Regions from separate parts of the Homo sapiens genome. Here region 2 is linked to region 1. Evidence: promoter capture Hi-C in human tissues and cell types (Jung and others, 2019). All regions are on one chromosome and are shown on one strand. The core of a region is centred on a gene start or on the middle of the fragment in contact, and the rest is flanking DNA. Distances in the headings are between cores, read along the strand shown.

The links. Contacts are between HindIII fragments. The study calls those that stand out against the background at their distance.
Region 2: a contact is called between a fragment that was not itself captured here and the fragment with the promoter of CFDP1 in region 1, in 1 of the 25 tissues and cell types used here (hippocampus).

The regions. Positions count from the first base shown.
Region 1 is chr16:75,432,094-75,435,063 of GRCh38, forward strand. It overlaps CFDP1 (craniofacial development protein 1), which reads right to left and starts at 1,410. Exons shown (of 7, transcript NM_006324.3): 1 at 1,196-1,410. The coding sequence starts at 1,259. RefSeq lists a silencer at 846-1,085 and enhancers at 1,396-1,905, 1,449-2,016. The HindIII fragment of the contact is 15,991 bases long and covers 1-2,970 here.
Region 2 is chr16:77,222,529-77,225,498 of GRCh38, forward strand. No RefSeq gene overlaps it. Among named protein-coding and RNA genes, the nearest start is that of SYCE1L, 25 kb to the left of the region's middle. The HindIII fragment of the contact is 3,579 bases long and covers 1-2,970 here.

The sequences.
Region 1 (2,970 bases), core at 160-2,659:
TACAGACGGGGTTTTACCATGTTGTCCAGGATGGTCTCGATCTCCAGACCTTGTGATCCACCCACCTCAGCCTCCCAAAGTGTTGGGATTACAAGCATGAGCCACCGCGCCAGGAATGGAATGGCTAGTTTTCAACGTGCCTTTTAGAAATACTTCACTAGCCGGGGCGCGGTGGCTCATGCCTGTAATCCCAGCACTTTGGGTGGCTGAGGTGGGAGGATCACTTGAGCCCACGAGTTCGAGACCAGCCTGGGCAACATAGCAAGATGCCATTTCTAAAAAAAAAAAAAAAAAAAAAAATTTAAAAAATTAGCGGGCGTGGCAGCCTGCACCTGCAGTCCCAGCTACTCCAGAGGCTGAGACGGGAGGATCGCTTGAGCCCAGGAGTCTGAGGTTGCAGTGAGCCAAGATCGCATCACTGCACTCCAGCCTAGACAACAGCAAGACCCTGTCTTTAAATAAAACAGAACAGAACAAAGTAAAACAAAGAGAATAGGGACGACTCCTGGGTTGTGTTTTGTTAGTCTGTTTGTTTCTTGTTTGTCTAGTCTTTCAACTGAAGATGTGAATGGGTGAAGATACTTTCAACGAGACGGTTTGTCTGGGGAAGACCAAGAAGGGGGAACAGAAAGATTTCTTCAGTAAGATTCATTCTCACCCCGTTCGGGTTGAGATCCCTAAGGAAAGAAAGTTCTGAGAGGAGAGGATGGGTGGACGTCACAATGAGGCAAAAAGCATCAAAGGGGGAACTTTCTATCAGAACTTTCTAACAACCAGGCGGAGAGCGGACAGCTCTATCTTGGACGGGGTGGTGGCCAGCAGCTCTCTCGGGCCAGGGCTGAAAAAAACCTCCAAGGCTCGGACTGCCGCCCCGACTTCTGAAGCAGCGGTGTCGTTCGGGGCTGACCGACGAGCGTCCCTAGCGACAAGGGGCCGTGTCCATGTGCCGGTTCCCGCGCTGCAAGAGGGGGCGGCGGCCGGAGCTGCCCAACGGGAGGGGAGCACAGAACCGCCACGCGCACACGCCTCGGGCCGGAGCGGCCGAGGATGAGGGGCCTGAGGGAGCGGACGCTCGAGAACAGGAGCCCCCCTGGACCACCTGGGCCACAGGGCAGACGCCCGCGGGGGCAGAGCGCGCCTCACGTGAGGCGTGGGGCGGGGCAATTCGCTTCTCGCCTCAGGCGGAATCGCTCACCCGACGGCACGTAGTCCTCGTCCTCCTCCGACGTAGAGAAGTCTTCGGAGTCGAATTCCTCCATGTTGCTGCCGCTCGACGCTGGTCAAACTCACAAGACCGCAGCAGCCGCCTCCAACGGCAAAGCTCTAGGGAGAGACCATAGAGCCCCGGCGGCGGCGACGGCAGCTAGGGCGGCCCCCGACAGCGCTTTGCACATGCGCAGAGAGTACTACGTGGTTGCCCTACGACACTTCCGGCCGATGCCTCCGGGCTGGCGTCCCTGAAGCCCTCGCTGGGAGCCCGAACCCGCCCGGACGCGGTGCATGCTGGAACTTGTAGTCTTCGGCGCTGCCTCGCCGCCTTAATATAATAAACCTGCTTAAATAAAATTACATATCTATGGAAATACAGGTGACCTTCATTAATCATTAATTCGTAATGCCAAATTCACTTACTTGCTAAAATGTATTTGTAACCCTAAAATCAATCATCACGGTACTGTCTGGGGTTCTTCCCGGGCATGCGCAGAGGGTGAAAATTTGGAGTTGGCGGAGGTAAGGTTCCCAGCTGAAGTTTGAACTGGGAGAAGCGCCGCCTTCTAGTCGCAGCTCCTGTGCTGTAAACAAAGAGTCCTTTCCGCAGTCTGTTTACTGACACTTTTTTTTCTGCTTTTTGTGGGTGGTTTTGCTTTCTAAAATGGCCCCCAAGCGTAGTGCTTAAGCTCTGCCCAGTGTTCCTAAGCGAAAGAAGACCGTGATGTGCCTTACGGAGAAAGTCCGCGTGTTGGATAAGCTCCAATCAGGCATGAGTTACAGTGCTGTTGGCCATGAGCTCAATGTTAACGAGTCGACAATCCGGTACATCAAGAAAAAGGAAAAGGAAATTCACCGATCTGTCCGTGAGGCCGCTCCGGATAGTGCTGAAGTGACCTCCATCGTGCGTGATGAAGCTATGACAAAGATGGAAAAGATGGAAAAGCGGCTAAATTTGTGGATTCATGAGATGTCAATCGATTAAAAAAAACATAGTGGACAGCATTGTGGTGAGGCTGAAAGCCAAAGATATCTGTGGTCACGTTACCCAGAGTCAAAGAAATGCTAAGCCCTTCTCGGCGAGTGCTGGCCGGCTCGCGCGTTTCAAAAGGCGATACGGGGTGAAAAATGTTAAACTTGCAGGTGAGGCGAGCTCTGCAGATCAGGAGGCTGCGGAAGAATTTTAAAAATACTTGCTAAGTGTTATACAGGAAAAGGGTTATGTGAAAGAGCAGGTTTTCAATGCGGATGAGACTGGCTTATTTTACAAGGATGTTGGCAAACGAACCTATATAATGCAAACGGCCTCCAAAGCCCCTGGCTTTAAATCATGCCAGGATCATGCACCCTTGTTATTGTGCGCCAATGCCAAGAGCGACTAAAGTGCAAACTCCTAATGGTGTAAAGAACCCAAAATCCACAAGCACTTAACGGGAAATACGTGAACCATCTGCCAGTCTATTGGAGGTGGAACAAAAAAGTGTGGATGATGTCTGATTGGTTCCACAACTGCTTCATCCCAGAAGCTGAACACTGTCTCCAGGGCAGAAACCTTGCCTTCAAGGGTTTTTTGTTTTGTTTTGTTTTGTTTTTTGTTTGTTTGGGTTTGTTTTGTTTTGGTTTGGTTTTGAAACGGAGTCTCGCTCTGTCGCCCAGGCTGGAGTGCAGTGGCGCAATCTCGGCTCACTGCAAGCTCCGCCTCCCGGGTTCACGTCATTCTCCTGCCTCAGCCTCCCGAGTAGCTGGGACTACAGGCGTCCA
Region 2 (2,970 bases), core at 145-2,644, 1.8 Mb after region 1:
ATGGATGTCCCAGCTCAAAAAGACAGTCAATTTACCTTTCTTCTGGCTTTTTGTCTTATTTAGATGGGCCCTCAATAGATGAGGTGATGCTCCGCAACACCGGTGTGGGTGAGTCTTCTTCCCTTAGTGGACTGATTCAAATGCTACTCTCTTCCAGAAACAGCCTCACAGACACAACCAGAAGTAATATTTTTCTATCTCTCTGGCTGTCTCCTATCCCAGTCAAGTTGACACATTAAAATTAACAATCACACCTGCAATTATATTCCCTCTGCTTTAAATAAATTCTATCTTTTTATCTGATTAGACCCTGACTGACAATCTTGCTACCAGGAGAAGTGCCAGGAAACACATCTTCCTATGGGATTCTGGTTGGGGTTGGCCTGCTTGTGCATGAACACAATCATGATCTTATTGCAGGTGGAAAATGGAATACTGATTCTAGCAGATAGGGTCAGCGCCTACCTGTACTCACTTGTCTTACACCTCATTGCACGCCAGGCCGGCTTCCATCTGCCAGGACATAAATTCCTTTCCATGACATTTTTCCATGACATGGATGCTGAAGTATGCCTGGCCTATTTGTCTGGTGGGCTAGAAGTGTTGCAGAATGAATTTCTGCCTCCCTAAGCCTCAGAACAGTCTTCATCTATTGACCGATAGGATTGGGTGTATATGCCAGTTAACAATGTATTGCCTCTCAGCTCCAAATTCACCTTTACCACCTGCCTTGTGAAAATGGATCAGGCCCTTGAAACAGTTTCCTTTGCCAGCTGACACGATGTTAAGCTTTGCTCAGTAGAGGGCGCCAGGGAGACGTTTCTGCTTTGGTTCTGGTCTTCCGGCTAGGTAGGTTTCTGCAGGGTGGACGACTTCTCCAGCGCAGGTTCCTGTAGCGCATGGCAGCCAGCAGCGTCCCAAGACACCATCTTTGGTAGTTTTGTAGCAGTGACTCTAGTGAGACACCTCTCCATGAACAACGTTCCCCAACACCTCAGAAGATGGATTTCTGGCAAGGTTTAGAGGGCAGATTTCCAGAAAGTTCTACAAAGGCAGCACTACAGCAACTTCTTTGCCCTTCAGTGAGTCACAGCCATGACCTGTCCAACTAGGACCTGACCTCACCCTGTGGGTAGAGGGTCTCCCTTGGACGCTCCAGCTCAGCCCTGCAGGCAGTAGCTGCTGCGTAGGTCGGCTCTTTCTGTATGCTTCAGAGTTTTCTTTGCTTTTTCCTAGTGAACCCCTCACTGCCCCAATATCCCATTTTAGTTAATAATGATGTATTTTAAACTTTATCTGTTCAAATTATTGCATAGTTTTTCTCCCTTGATAGGACTCTTACTGTGCATAAATTCTCCAGCTCCTTTGGCGTTTGGCTGGAGTAAGTTTGAGGCATGCTTTTATTTATTTATTTATTTATTTATTTATTTATTTATTTATTGAGATGGAGTCTCGCTCTGTCACCCAGGCCGGAGTGCACTTGTGTGATCTCAGCTCACTGCAACCTCCGCCTCCCGAGTTCAAGTGATTCCCCTGCCTCAGCCTCCTGAGTAGCCGGGATTACAGGTGTGTGCCACCATGCCCGGCTAATTTTTGTATTTTTAGTAGAGACAGGGGTCTCACCATGTTGGCCAGGCTGGTCTCGAGCTCCTGACCTCAAGTGATCCGCCCACCTTGGCCTGCCAAAGTGCTGGGATTACAGGCGTGAGTCATCGTGCTCAGCCAGGCGTGCTTTTTTAATACTGGCTCCAGGGTATCCCCAGTGGCTTGTTAAAAAAATACATCATGGGCTGCTTTTCCTTTCTTGCTGTGGGAATGTAAAAGGACCTGATGAGGATGAAAGACACGACTTGTTGACAGCCCTGGGAGTCTAGAAGGAGGTGGAAGTCAGAAATGTTGCAGTTGTTCAGAACGAATTCCTAGTACTGTAACTAGGCCAGTGCTGGCATGGAAATAGAGATTACCTACACACCCCAAAGGGGGCTTAGGCCTGCATGCACCTGGTGATTGAATGTGAGATCGAGAGGGCTTTCCAGCAATAGAAATATACACCTTCCTATTGCTCCAAGATGCCAAGCAGAAAGTCAACATACATTTGAATAGGTTCTATCAAAAGAACAATTCCTTCTCTGATGTGGATCATGAAGTAGCAATTATTCTATCTCTATTCCCATGCAAGCTAAGCGTATGCATAGAGATGACCATTTCTGGGTTATGTCTATGTCATAAACTTGTTTAATGCAGTTGCTGCCTTGGCATCCGTTGTTAGGCCTGACATAAGTTGTTTGAAGTCCAGTTGTACCCTGTCACCTTTGGTCTAGTTAAAACTTCCTCTCCCCATGTGGCTGTTTGCAATATAGCCCACTTGTTCCTCATCCCACTGAACCCAAACCCAACATATCCCACAGCTGCTGACTGTGATAAAACCCAGTGGCCAACACCAGAGTCGTGTAGGTAAGTTCCCTTTCTCACACGTATTTTCCTTAAACTAGCAAATTCACAACCCCCTGTGGAAAGCCTAAGTGAGAACACTCCTGGAGCCCCTAGACCTTGATAAAGGCGTGCTCCTGCTGGTCATCTCTCATGTCATGCATTTCGTTTTCCCATTTTCCTTCTGTCTCTCCTGACTGGCACACCTGAACCTTAACTAGGACATAAGGAGAATAGGAAACCAAAATGCAAGGTCCAGGGGCTCCAGGAGTGTTATCACTTACAACACGCTCTCCTAGAGAGTGGCTATCTTGGCAGAAATAAACTGGACACAGATCAGACAAGAGCCACAAAGCGTGTCTGCTGGATTTCCTTTGAGAGAGACAGCTGGCTATGGATCAGACTCAGGCATTAGGCTGTCAATCAGGATAAAGAAGCATCATGTGAAAGACACACTGTAAACACCTGTGAACATCTCCCCTGGAGCCCTAGCAGGGCCAAGCTTTATCGCCACTCTCCAGAGAGTCCTGAAGAGCAAAT